5 separate regions of the Homo sapiens genome follow, and all the other regions are linked to region 2. The links are contacts of gene promoters, found by promoter capture Hi-C in blood cells and fetal thymus (Javierre and others, 2016). All regions are on one chromosome and are shown on one strand. The core of a region is centred on a gene start or on the middle of the fragment in contact, and the rest is flanking DNA. Distances in the headings are between cores, read along the strand shown. Region 1 overlaps MAD2L1-DT (MAD2L1 divergent transcript). Region 2 holds the start of ARLN (allregulin). Region 3 overlaps METTL14 (methyltransferase 14, N6-adenosine-methyltransferase non-catalytic subunit). Region 4 overlaps SEC24D (SEC24 homolog D, COPII component). Region 5 overlaps SEC24D (SEC24 homolog D, COPII component).

Evidence for each region. The method cuts DNA at HindIII sites, captures the fragments that hold promoters and counts their contacts. A CHiCAGO score of 5 or more calls a contact.
Region 1: a fragment that was not itself captured here is called in contact with the fragment with the promoter of ARLN in region 2 in 1 of 17 cell types (total CD4 T cells); the score reaches 5.6 in total CD4 T cells.
Region 3: a fragment that was not itself captured here is called in contact with the fragment with the promoter of ARLN in region 2 in 1 of 17 cell types (total B cells); the score reaches 5.1 in total B cells.
Region 4: a contact is called between a fragment that was not itself captured here and the fragment with the promoter of ARLN in region 2, in 1 of 17 cell types (total B cells). The highest score is 6.3, in total B cells.
Region 5: a fragment that was not itself captured here is called in contact with the fragment with the promoter of ARLN in region 2 in 1 of 17 cell types (total B cells); the score reaches 6.4 in total B cells.

The regions. Positions count from the first base shown.
Region 1 is chr4:120,073,780-120,076,479 of GRCh38, reverse strand. All of the region lies in intron 1 of MAD2L1-DT (MAD2L1 divergent transcript), which reads right to left. Among named protein-coding and RNA genes, the nearest start is that of MAD2L1-DT, 8.2 kb to the right of the region's middle. The HindIII fragment of the contact is 2,762 bases long and covers 22-2,700 here.
Region 2 is chr4:119,299,391-119,302,090 of GRCh38, reverse strand. ARLN (allregulin) reads left to right here and starts at 1,446. Exons shown (of 2, transcript NM_001001701.4): 1 at 1,446-1,755. The coding sequence starts at 1,556. RefSeq lists enhancers at 1,473-1,702, 1,803-1,852. The HindIII fragment of the contact is 14,870 bases long and covers 1-2,700 here.
Region 3 is chr4:118,687,177-118,689,876 of GRCh38, reverse strand. It overlaps METTL14 (methyltransferase 14, N6-adenosine-methyltransferase non-catalytic subunit), which reads right to left. Exons shown (of 11, transcript NM_020961.4): 2 at 1,866-1,954; 3 at 420-507. Among named protein-coding and RNA genes, the nearest start is that of METTL14, 3.1 kb to the right of the region's middle. The HindIII fragment of the contact is 4,493 bases long and covers 1-2,700 here.
Region 4 is chr4:118,768,897-118,771,596 of GRCh38, reverse strand. All of the region lies in intron 8 of SEC24D (SEC24 homolog D, COPII component), which reads left to right. Among named protein-coding and RNA genes, the nearest start is that of SEC24D, 66 kb to the left of the region's middle. The HindIII fragment of the contact is 1,538 bases long and covers 638-2,175 here.
Region 5 is chr4:118,740,559-118,743,258 of GRCh38, reverse strand. SEC24D (SEC24 homolog D, COPII component) reads left to right here. Exons shown (of 23, transcript NM_014822.4): 16 at 2,222-2,318; 17 at 2,451-2,596. Among named protein-coding and RNA genes, the nearest start is that of METTL14, 57 kb to the right of the region's middle. The HindIII fragment of the contact is 760 bases long and covers 875-1,634 here.

The DNA of each region.
Region 1 (2,700 bases), core at 153-2,652, 770 kb before region 2:
TTTAACCTAGGAAAATAAGCTTTACTAAAAAAATGGATTTCAAAAAATGGACTGACATTGCACACTCACACAGTCTCCATGTCAGAAGGTCACGTTCTTACTCATATGTGGAAGTTAAAAAAGTTGATCCCACAGAAGTAAAAAGTACAACAGAGAATACTAGAGGCTGGGAAGGGTAGGCGGAAAGAGAGGACAGAGAGATTTGTTAAAGGAAACAAAATTACAGCTAGATAAGAGTAAGTTCTAGTGTTCTACAGCACTTGTAGGATGACTACATCCTACAAGTTAATAATAGTTTAAAATAGCTAGAATGGGGATATTGAATGTTTGAAACACAAAGAAATTATAAATGTTTAAGATGATAGATAGGCTGATTACCCTGATCTGATCACTATACATTGTATAGACCACAACATCACTATGCACCCTGTAAATATGTACAATTATTATTTGTCAGTTTTAAAAATTTAGAAAAAAAAGGGAGTCATAGGCCATGATTGGTACCCTGAGGAAATGCAAGTCAGCTGTGCCAGATTTACTGGCTCTTTCTCTTTGCAGTACTGTGCTAACAAGAACTTCAGAAAAATTAACATTCTTCCATTCCGTTTTTCAAAAGACACTCATGTTATGGAAGGAGCACGTTTGAATAAACTTTTTTTTTTTTTTGAGATGGAGTCTCGCTCTGTCACCCAGGTTGGAATGCAGTGGCACGATCTCAGCTCACTGCAAGCTCCAGCTCCCGGGTTCATGCCATTCTCCTGCCTCAGCCTCCTGAGTAGCTGGGACTACAGGTGCCCGCCACCACACCCGGCTAATTTTTTGTATTTTTTTTTTTTTTACAGGGTTTCACTGTGTTAGCCAGGATGGTCTCAATCTCCTGACCTCGTCATCCGCCCTCCTCAGCCTCCCAAAGTGCTGGGATTACAGGCATGAGCCACCGCACCTGGCCTGGATAAACTATTTTTTAAAAAAGTCTCATCTGTACAATTGAAAAGTTTGGAAACAGAGTTCTCTAAACTATAATTTTTCTAAATTACAAATTAGTTCCAAAACTAACTAAAAGGTCAAACAATGCATTTAATTAGTTCCCAAACTAATAGGAAGGTATTGTTTTGATATTTTTTTAAAAAAAAAAGGGTTAAAAAACTGCTTAAACCATTGTTTTTGAACACATTCATTAAAATTATTAAAATATCATATGTCACTTTTTAACCAGCTTGTAAGAACACCTAATTGGTACCATTAAATTGAAATTTAATAATCCCTTTTCAGCAAAAACTTTGCATAATTGCTAATACAGGTAAATAAAAAGAATAAGAAGTCAACAATGTACTTTCTTCCATTTGGACCTTCATATCTTTGTGGTGTATCTCTTTTAGCTCTGCTGGCCAAAAAACACAAACCCCCCAAAACAAACAAAAAAACTATTAAAATAAGCTGAATTATTAGACTTGTAAACCACTCTTTCAAAAATAATTAAACCATGATTTTTAAAAGCAATGAAACATATTCACTGCAAAAATCTTAATATGGTTATTAATATATTTAGTGAAAGTAAAAATAATTTATTTTCTAATAATATAAACAGAATTATTTTAAAAGTATTTCTCATCTTTCTTAATTTCGAACAACTGGTATGATTTAAACACATATGCTATACCTAACACTGTGGAAAATGTTTATAATTTAGAGATAAATAACCAACATTTACATAAGTATATTCATAACTTTTTCTGTTACTGATAGTACACACTATTTTGGAAAACAAGACCTTTGAGAAAGAGAAGAGAAAGGTGCATTCACATTTCCAGATTGCTTCAAATAATCTCCCTACAAGTTCCAGTCTCCCAGGAGGTACAGGCAAGTGTACTTGGGGCATAAGTAGAACTATGACCTGCCTTTCCCACACTCCTGATCTTTTTCCTAAGTCAGGCAGGCAAGCATTGTAAGTGTGGAATGCTACACCTACAATGTCCCGAAGATGTTCATCTTCTATGTTATGAGTACTTTTGGCTGCTTTTGGGAGTTAAGTATTATAATTTCTTCTTATTTCAATGTAGACTAACTCAATAAGAATCTTATTATTCTTAAAATAGCTCAAAATTAATGAATCTTAATGTAAAATTCCAAAAACAAAAAGAGCCTATCTTATCGTCTAACTATACAAATTAATAACCACACTTTACATTTAAATCTCAAAATTCTGTGGATACATTTTAAAATAACTAAATGCTATGATCTATTGTTTCTCATACTATAGTCTACAAGTATACTCTTGGAAATATTCTTAATTAAATAAAACTTCAAATTTTCTTTTATTTTGATGATGTTGTAACAGAGATTAAGAAAGATCCTTAAAACAGAGAATTGCCATCTACCTGAGTGCAAAAAGTTAGAATCTGTATTTGTAAACATATTAGGATTAAGCAATCATGAAAGACACCATTTATTTTTAATCCACTTGATCTCCAAGTTTAAACCAAAAGCTCTCAAGTTCAGTAAGCCTTTTTGTTGTTGTTGGCTGATGTTAAAAGGGTACATTATTCAAGAATTTTAAAAAAGTCATATTCAATTTATAAATTGAAAAGTTCAGCACAAATAATGGAATTAATGTGCATGACTGATCTGAAACCTGATAAATATGGCTTGACTACCTTATTGTTTGAATGAGCTATAAACACAAGGCAAGTTATGAGAAAA
Region 2 (2,700 bases), core at 197-2,696:
CATCTCTGGTAGAGGCAATTGTTTATTTGCCTTTCCTAATTTTTGTAAAGATTCAATGCCACTTAAGCCCAGGGTCTTTTTGTCTACTACCATCAGACAATCTGTATTACAGCACACAATCTAATTAATTCTCAGGTAATGGCCCTCTCATCCCAGAATCTACAAAGCATTTTTCTTGAAAGGTCGTATACTATCTTTGTCTCTAAAACCTGGCAATTGATTTGGAGGCAAATTGGAGCAAGGTTAGGAAGCTATGGAACAGCTTTAAGAGTGCTGGATTTGGAGTTAATTTTAGGCTTTATAATTTTTTTAGTAACCTTAGACAATTCACTCCTTTTGTGTCTCATTTCCTAATTCTATAAGATGGAGTACTGCCCCTTCAAAGAGGTTTTACGACGATTTAATGACTTTGTAAAAACACAACTACAGTCTTATCTCCATTTACTATGCACCAAGAGAACCACTTATATGTCTGGGTGCCCGTTATTTTCTGAACAATTCAGGAATCATAATGTGACAAGAAAGAGAATATTTGAAATTGGACCCACGAGGTAAAATCCAGGCAGTATAGGTCATTTTCTTCCTGCTAGCATTCTGTTCTTGCTGAGGCTCACACTCAAAGTCAAATAACCTTTGGGTTATTCTTCCCACCCCCATTTCCCCCCAGATGGAGTCTCGCTCTGTTGCCCAGGCTGGAGTGCAATAGTGGCACGATCTCAGCTCACTGCAACCTCCGCCTCCCGGGTTCAAGCGATTCTCCTGCCTCAGCCTCCCGAGTAACTGGGATTACAGGCGCCTGCCACCACGCCCGGCTAATTTTTGGATTTTTTTTTTTTTTTTTTTTTTTTTAGTAGAGACGGGATTTCAGCATGTTGGCCAGGCTGGTCTCGAACTCCTTACCTCAGGTGATCCGCCCGCCTCGGCCTCTCAAAGTGCTGGGATTACAGGGGGGCGCGGCCAGGTTATTCTTAAACCCACTCCCTTGAAGTACCTGCAAAATGCTCACGTGCTGCTCTCTGGCCCGTTTGGAAACTCAGTCCCGTGAGTAGGACGTCCACCTCATTGGTGGTGTTTAAATATTAAGTGTCAAATGCTAGAGACAGTACAAAACCCACCAGAGGGGGCCTTCCTAACACGTTGGCATAAGGATCCAAACGGAATACGGGGATAGGAGAGGTGACCTCGTGCAGTTTCAGGGAGGAGTCCATCACCTGACTGGACTGGGCCTTTCAGGGGGACGAGAACGTATTTCTTCCAACGAAACCTGAATAACCAGCTATCTGCCTGGGACGCCGCGAGGCAGAAGTAGGCGGGCCCATTGACTTAGTGTCAAGGCGGAGGCCGCGCTTCATGCCAGCGGTCACGGAGGCAGCGGAAAGCCGAGCCAGGCGCCTGCGCGCTGGGAAGAGTAGGTTCAGAGTGCATTCCGGAACCCGGGGCGCGGCGCACTGCGCAGGCGGCCGGACTCCGCTCAGTTTCCGGTGCGGCGAACACCAAAGTCCGGGAACTTAAGCATTTTCGGTTTCTAGGGTTGTTACGAAGCTGCAGGAGCGAGATGGAGGTGGACGCACCGGGTGTTGATGGTCGAGATGGTCTCCGGGAGCGGCGAGGCTTTAGCGAGGGAGGGAGGCAGAACTTCGATGTGAGGCCTCAGTCTGGGGCAAATGGGCTTCCCAAACACTCCTACTGGTTGGACCTCTGGCTTTTCATCCTTTTCGATGTGGTGGTGTTTCTCTTTGTGTATTTTTTGCCATGGTGAGTATCTCGAATGCAAAATTGGGGTGGTAAGGAGCTTAGAGATCATTTGCTCGCTTTTGGGCGGGGAGGGGACTGAATTCCAGAGAGTTTATATATGTCCAAGATCACACAGCTGGTGAGTGGCGCAGTCGGGTGGGTGGGGGAGAAGGACTAGGAGTAAAATGTCCTTCTTTAGCACGTCCGTGGGAGTCTCCAAAGAAGTGTGGAGAAAACTTGGCGTCATATTTTCTCATGATTTGGAATGAAACCAGCTAGGCTTGAGTTCCTGCAGCACCATGAAGCGACCGGAGAAGTTATTTCGCCTTTTGGAGCTTTATTTTTTCATCTGCCATTTGGGACCATTAGTAACCCAGGTCATAGGGGTGTAGTGAAGATTGAGATCGTAGTGATTTGCATGTTGCCTGGCAGTAGTAAGTGCTCAACGAAAGCTATTTTTACTATACAGCTGTTTAACCATGAGCAGACCACGCAGCTGTCTCAAACTAAACATGTCCAAAACTGAACTCTTAACAGCTTCTTACCCAAATTTACTTGCCTTGCAGCGTTACCATTTCAGTAAACGCCAACTTTATCCACCGTTACCTCCCAGAAACCTGAGACACTTTGCCCTTTTCTTACACACATCCACATATCCTAAAACACCAAGTTACAAAATTCTGTAGAGTTTACTTGTAAAACCCATGCTCTCCATTTTCATCGCCACTCGCTCTGAAAAGACAATTCTGGCAGAGGGTAAAGGAAGGGAACTTAAGAGAATAGGGCAGGAGGAAGCAGACACCAAATGGAGATGGTGTTAAGAGACAAGCTAAGGAGAAGCAGTGAGATGAAACAGGGCTCCTATGGGAGAAGAGCAGTGTAGCCCATCTAGACAGCTCTCCTGGACTTTGGAGTTGATTGTTCACTCACTGTTAACTCCTTAGTCACCATGCCTATGAGTTACTT
Region 3 (2,700 bases), core at 109-2,608, 610 kb after region 2:
CACCAGGTAAAGAGATCAAGACCATCCTGGCCAACATGGTGAAACCCTGTCTCTACTAAAAATACAAAAATTAGCTGGGCATGGTGGTGCACCAAGTCCCAGCTACTTGGGAGGCTGAGGCAGAAGAATCCCTTAGAATCCAGGAGGCGGAGGTTGCAGTGAGCCGAGATTGTGCCATTACACTCCAGCCTGGCGACAGAGCGAGACTCCGTCACAAAAAAAAAAAAAGGAAAAGAAAAGAAAAAGATAAGAAAACTGATATAATGGTCTTAATGTAACTGGTGATAACATATGCCACTGACAATTATTTTAGCACATCTTAAAATTAGGCTTTCCATCAAATTTGTTTTCCTGGATATGAATCTATCATTTGGATTTATGTTTTCTTTGACCATAAACTTATTTCACTCTCTACTTGCCTTATATTCTTCCATTTTGTCTTCATCTGTCTCTCCTTCATCCAGATACTTACGTTTTGCATTTGGAGCAGAGGTATCATAGGAAGCCCTGAAAAATAAACAGAAATATTACCCATAAATATATACAAGATGTATAAATGCATCTATTAATAATAATAAACAGGTTATAAAAACAGAACAAGACAAATTTTTCCTGATTAAAGAATATCTATCTACGCAGTTTATAAGTCATCCAAAAAGTCAAATAACCTGATTGATAATTCTGTGTTTCATTTTTATCAGAAAGCAACCAAATGAGAAAATAAGCTGCTATAAGGGATATATTGAAAATAAATTTATATAGTATGTATTATTTTAATCTGTTTTGAGCAAAACAGACGTACAAATTGAAAACTAGAATAGCGAAAAAATTTTGAAATGCTTTCTGAACTACCAAATAAATACCACTTTTAGGATAAAGTATATTTTCTTTTATAAAAATTTTTAGGCTGGGCATGGTGGGTCATGCCTGTAATCCCAGCACTTTGGGAGGCCAAGGCAGGCGGATCAAAAAGTCAAGAGATCGAGACCAGCCTGGCCAACATGATGAAACCCCATGTTTACTAAAAATACAAAAATTAGCTGGGGGTGGTGGCGCGCACCTGTAGTCCCAGCTACTGGGGAGGCTGAGGCAGGAGAATTGCTTCAACCCTGGAGGCGGAGGTTGCAGTGAGCCGAGATTGCGCCACTGCACTCAAGCCTGGTGACAGAGCGAGACTCTATTTCCAAAAAAATGTTTAAATATACTTGTTTATTTATAGTATATATGCTAATTCTTAGTCTAACATTCCATTTTCTAAGTACTTTACAAATGGGAACTTACTATCCTCAGAAAATAAATATTTTATAATTAATGAACTGACAATAAAAACCATTGTGTCTAAAATCATTATTTTGATGCTTTTCTTAATACACTGCATACCTACCTAGGGTTATTTATTAAAACAGTAATCCTTTCACATTTTTTTTTTTTTTTTGAGACGGAGTCTCACTCTGTCTCCCAGGCTGCAGTGCAGTGGCACAATCTTGGCTCAGCTCACTACAATCTCCGCCTCCCGGTTTCAAGCAATTCTACTGCCTAAGGCTCCCGAGTAGCGGGGATTACAGGAGCCCGCCACCATGTCTGGCTAATTTTTGTATTTTTAGTAGAGATGGGATTTCACCATGTTGGCCAGACTGGCCTCGAACTCCCGACTTCCTGGGCTCAAGTGATCCACCTGCCTCGGCACAGTGGCTCATATCTGTAATCTCAGCACTTTGGGAGGCCAAGGCAGGTGTACCACTTGAGCCCAGGAGTCAAGGCTGCAGTGAGCCATAATCATGCTACTGTACTCCAGCCTATCCAGCCTAAGCAACAGAGTGAAACCCTGTCTCAAAAAAAAAAAAAAAAAGAATTATCTGACTGACCTGCAAGTTTCTCTTGTTTCAGCAATTTCTCTCTGCTCATCTTTGCTATTTAACACGGCACCAATGCTGTCGGCACTTTCAGCTCCCAACTGAGAAAAGACAAAATCAGAAATTAGATTGCAATGCACTGGATAGCCTTTCTGGGCATTTGTAGCAGCATTTAATACATTAAATACTTAAAAAACAAAAACACCTTAATTCACACACACACACACACACACAAAACAATGAATTAATCAGCTTGCAAGACAAACTGGAAAAACTCTGGAAAAAAACCGCATTAATTAAGATGAGTTTGACAGCTGGCAAAACATTTTATGCTTTCAGTTATACAGCGGCTCCTTGATTTATGATGAGGTTATGTCCTGATAAACCCATTGTAAGTTGAAAGTAAATCTGTTTCAAAATAAACGTTGTAAGTGTGTTTTCAAGTTACAATATTTTCCACTTATGATGGGTTTATCAGAACACAACTCCACCGTAAGTCAATGAGCAGCCTGGATGCCTATCACTCTCAAACCATCATAAAGTCAATTGTTAAGTCAAATGATAGTAAGTCTGGAACCATCTGTATTTGAAAATAAGACACTTTAGCCAATTTCCTGTGAAGCAATACACACGATTTAATATAAAATGAGCATTCCAAATCTGAAAATCCAAAATCCAAAACGCTCCAAAATCTGGAACTTTTTGAGTACTGACATGACATTCAAAGGAAATGGTCACTGAAGCATTCCGATTTTGAGTTTTGGTATTTGGCATGCTCAACCAGTAAGTAATATGCAAATATTCCAAATCCTGAAAAAAATCTGAAATCCAAAACACTTCTGGCCCA
Region 4 (2,700 bases), core at 157-2,656, 530 kb after region 2:
AAAATCAACCAGTGTTTATATACATACACAAGAGATACATTTTATTCAATTAAAGCACTTTTATTAAAATTAGTATCAGCACAGTATTTGGCACACCCGTTAATCCAAAAATACAAGGAAAAGATTCACATTTTTCCTCAGCCTCCCTATCACTTTCATGTTGTGTAAACTCAGGCCACACAGGGCCAGAACCAAACAATAGCCAGGTGAGGTTTTTATAGCCAGTCTTTCTATCCTTTCACTTTTCCACTTAAGAACAGAAAAGAAAGGGCAGACAGGGATATACTAAGAGCTAAATATTAAAGTATATTTGTAAACAAAATTTTTAAAATCTGAAAATATTTCTGAGGTAAATATAATTCCCTTGGTAAGGAAAAAAGATAACTTAGGCAATTTTTTGAAAAGTAACTTGATTTTTTTTTAAAGCCATGCACACCAAGATCGAACTCAAAAGAAAAGTAAGGTTAGCTATTTATGAGCTCATGCACACTGTGGTGCAGATAAGCTGACATCTGGAGAGTGCAAAGGGAAATCTTTGATGCTTTTCAACATGGCCTGAGAGAGATGAAACAAGCCAGTGTAATTTAGAAGCCCTTGCCCTGTTGCCTGAAAATAAAATGTAAACAGTTAAAAAGCTTTTAACATTCTTTACTGTCACCTCAGTTTTCTGAAGACCTTACTTACCTATCCATCATCTGGTTTCTAAAAAAGTGAAAATTGAAAAAACTGTAAGTGTATTTAATAGCCTAGACACAGTCATGACTTGACTCCAGTTTCCTGTTAGACATTGATTTTCAGTCCTGCAAGTTTGAATCTGTCAGGACTGGAATGCATAGGTGTTCATTGCCGACAATTTCACAGTAATTTTAGGCTGGGTCTGGTTTTGAGCAAATCATATCAGTGATAATAAGGTCAAATTTGCTTCCATTACTTTTGGCTTGTCTAGCATATAATTGGATCTTATTTGGTTTCTAAAATCAGGGGATTTGTTACAGCCTTTGGACTTTTTGAAAATAAAAGGATGAGAAAAGTAAACTTGGCTGAGTGAATGGAAACTGCAGAATTTCTCCCAATTTTAACTTCTGAAAGCATCTCCTGATCTCAGAGGTTGGAGTTGTGGAACAGAGCAGTAACTGGAGTCATGATTGGTAATTGTACTTTTAATCCAGAGGAAGCTACCTGAACAGCACATATTTGTTGTCTTCCGCTTCTTACTCTTCTAGCTTTCCATTTATTGTTCTAAGAATCTCTTTTTTTTGTACCTGCATGCTTTTGCTTCTCTCTTGCCTCCTCAAGTAATTTCTTCCTATTACCAGCTGAAGAGAACAAACATTTGTCACTATATGCCTTTCTAACAAAAAGTTTGTCTGAAAGAGTGGTGTATACATCAGATATATGAATTTGTATGTGTGAGTATGTATTTAAATAAAGTTCCTGGAGTGTTTTAAAAATCCATTCTGCTTCTCAACTTTTAACCATTAGAGTGTATCAGAATCCCCTGAAAGTTTATTCTCTGTCTTCTAGATCATTTTTACAATAATGTTTTTACAATAACTGACCAGGTAGCCTTCAGGACCTGAAGCCCATCTCATACTTGCCCTCCTGTCAAAGATGACTTTGTCCTGAGCTGAGTGGTTTTGAGAGAGGAAAGGCTGTTCTGGATAAAAATTTTCCAACTACTTTTTGCCAGGCACAATGCTGTACACTGCACATGTATTACTCACCTAATCCTTGTCACAACCCCTACCAGTGGGGCACCAGAGCCAGGCCCATGCTGTGGATCAGAAGCGACCATAAACAAGAAAATCCAATCTGTCTTCTGGCTTTCTTGAGGCAAGATGCGGGGAAGAGGGCATTGCAGAAATAGAGGGGAATGATTAAAGAAAAAATTTAAATCCTTCCCCGATTCTTTTGAGTATTGTGTTAATAAACCTGTTTTTTTCTGCTCTGAGACCTCCCAAATGATTTCTGAAACCTCAGCTTTCACTTTGAACATCTGGGCAGGGACAATGGGGGATCTCGGTTTTCTAAGACTGAAGCAGAAAACGGCCTGATGCCCCTACCCCACTGACCTCCTGCTCTTCAGGCCTCCGTTCAAAAGCAGTCTGCTTTATTTGTATCTTTTTCAGTAAAGAAAAATTTAATTGACATGCCAAAGCCTGCAATTCTCAAGCTTTTCTTTAAATGTTATCTTTAAGGAGATTTACAAAAACAAGTATCTCTGTGGTTTTCTCCCGAAAGCCAGAAGAGTTGGGAAGGCAGACTTAATGCTGAACTTTTTTACTTTTAAACTGTAAAAGATGTATCATGCTTTCTATGTATGTTTATGAGGAAGAAGCAATTGAATGATTTATTTTTTCAGTTCTGGCAAAGCATGGCCAGCTACACTGTGAGTATTCTGTGAAACGTTTTTTTCTGATAAACTAACAGAAAAGGTAGAATCGACCGCCTTGCCTAAATAAATGAACATTATTGCATATTTCTTCAAATAGCTGCATTTTTGAAGAAATAGTTTATGTGCTTTGGGGGAACTACATAGACAGCATACTGCTATGCAAACTAGAACTTTTTAAATCAGGCCCAACTCTCTTTATTTATAATCTATGAAGAAACTTAGCAAAATAGGTGACACAAGTTGTCTAGAATGTTTTTAACGTAAGTATAAGTAGGTATTATTACCATCACTATATGTTCTCTCTC
Region 5 (2,700 bases), core at 5-2,504, 560 kb after region 2:
TATCAATGTGAGCTTTCATAATGGAGAAAAATATATTTTATGTAAAATATACTTAAGATAATGTTTTTAAAAGTGACTGCATATTTGTTTTAAATTATTGGGATTTTAGGGATCAATTCATTACACTTCTCTTTTCCAAGCCTGATTGAGAGAGATATTCAAGAGACAATCAAAATGTCAGCACTATAATGGGCCTGAGTCTGCAGGCAAGTGGGCTTGCTGATTCACCCCTGAATTTCACAAACTTATGCGCCCCGGCACAGAGTGGGCACGATCTGAGTTTCTCCTGTGGACCCCTGTGCCTTGAAAAAAACACTGTATTGAGGGACAGAAAATATGTGCCTCCTGCAGGCAAGCTGCCTTCCTATGGAGAGGACCCAGAAGAGGCTGGGCTGTGCCCACCCAGTTCCTTTTCCCAAACTTATTAATCAGATGAGTCACTCCCCATCACCTAAGGAGAAGGGGTCAGGGGTGTACCTCTAATGTGTGTGCCTGGGCAGGCGTGGAGGCATGGACTGGGAAGGTGTATTCTCCAACATAAATGACAAATGTTAGTCATCATCTGTTTTTATTAATCATCAATAAAATTATGAATAGAGACTAGTTACATATTTCTTTATAAACTAAGGGACTTGATAAGACCAAAGATTGTAAATGAAATAAAATTGAAAAAGCTTTAACAACTCTTTCTAAGACTTCTGGATAAAAGTATGTTTTTTCAGATACACTCTAGAAAATAAACTTTTAATAATCATACAGAATTCTGACCCTTACTGATTCTACCCACATTCTGGGTATTGAGGTACATGAAGCCTACCATGCTAATCAATTTTAGCTCCTTTTCCAGTTAGGGGGATAAATTTCATCAGAAGCTTTCCCCCCCCCACTTTTCCAAAAAGGACTTTATCATCTTCCATTCCTGGCATATGTGAATTGTGCTGGGGTTCTTGCTAGGTCCTTTGCTATGTACTGGTGTGATCATCTACATGGTAGTGACTTGGCTTCAAAGAGCAGCCTACCAAGTGATGTGTAGGCAGGGGGTGCTCTGTGGTGTAATCATCCAGGCTTATTACTTTTTTTTTTCTATTTAAGTTTTTGAGTTACTTGCCAACCCCATGTCATTTCTGATATAAAAGGATATTTACTTGTACCTCAGTGTATCCATAATTATTACTGATTCTTTCAATGTTACTAAAAAAGAAATGTTATAATGCAGCAGAGGAAAAGCCAGTAAGATGTAAACAGGCAGTAAAATATTTTATAATAAAAGAGTGTTAATGTTGCCTATGCTGCCATTCAGTTGTTTGTTTACTCCAGTTGTTGCAAAACTGAATCCTGCCGTAGCATTTCTTTCTTATCTTCAACAATACAAATTTTAATAGTCTTTTCCATTCAATAACATTGTAAGATAAAAATGATGGTCAAGAACTATGCAGGCACCACCCAGTTGTATGTAAGCAACTAAAGGGATTATTGTAAAGATTGTGTCTATGATCTCCCTCTTTCCTTTCCTCCTTCATTCCCTTCGTGTTTGGGACTGGGGGGAAGGGATGAGATGCGTGCGTCAGTGTCTCTCCTATGTGTCAAGTAGTAGTGAGAATTTCCTAAAGAGTTTCACTGACAGATGAGAAGCTTTAGAAGCTCAGCTAGTTTGTTTCCTCTCTTGGGTGACCTCTGAGCTCAGTATTGTGCACATGTGCATATTATATAAATGTTGCTTAGTTGTGGAATGTGGACAGTTTTCAGAAATACGGTGATCGTAGAGTAGTTAACAGGGCTAGGAGAAGGGGTTTCTACTTTCCCTGACATAGCTTCACAAAGCTCTGAATGTGGTCAGACTTAAAAAGCCCCAATTGCAAGGTCTTTCCCTAGCCTCATTAAACGGGTATTATACATTGGGTCTTAACCTTGTCTCTAACCCTAAGCCACTGAGTGGATCACTTATGCTCTCTTAATTTTCCCATTTGCAATTAATAACCGATTTTCTCATCCAAGTGTTAAAATGAAAGAAAATAATAGATGAGATTTTAGTTTCAAAAGTTAAGAAACACTGTCCAAAAATGCTATATTTTCTTTAACCAAAGAAGCATAATATATAATAAAAAAATATGCTAAATCGGGATTTTAAAAATAATTATTATAACTCAGGATTAAAATGAGAACGTTATTTTAAGTATTTTACTGCCATCTGGTGGACATTGATTAGACTTTTATTTTTTAGATGCACTTGGATAGACAACAATTTTTGAACGACCTCAGAAATGATATTGAAAAGAAAATAGGCTTTGATGCTATTATGAGGGTTCGTACCAGCACAGGTAATTATCATTTATACAATTCTTCGGGTCTCTCTTGAATAATTGTTTCTTTTTCAAATTAATAACAGGCCAACAAAGAAAATAACAGTAGAATAAAGACAAGCAAAATTTCCCTTTTTCCCTTATCTTTAGGTTTCAGAGCCACTGATTTCTTTGGTGGAATCTTGATGAACAACACCACCGATGTAGAAATGGCTGCCATCGATTGTGACAAGGCAGTGACCGTGGAGTTCAAGCACGATGACAAACTCAGTGAAGACAGTGGAGCCTTAATCCAGGTGATTGAAAGTGTATTCCCACCTTTCGTTATTTTAGTTTGTTGCCGACAATGATCAGTGGGGAGACTGAAATACCATCAAATGTGTTAGTCTCTTCATAAAAA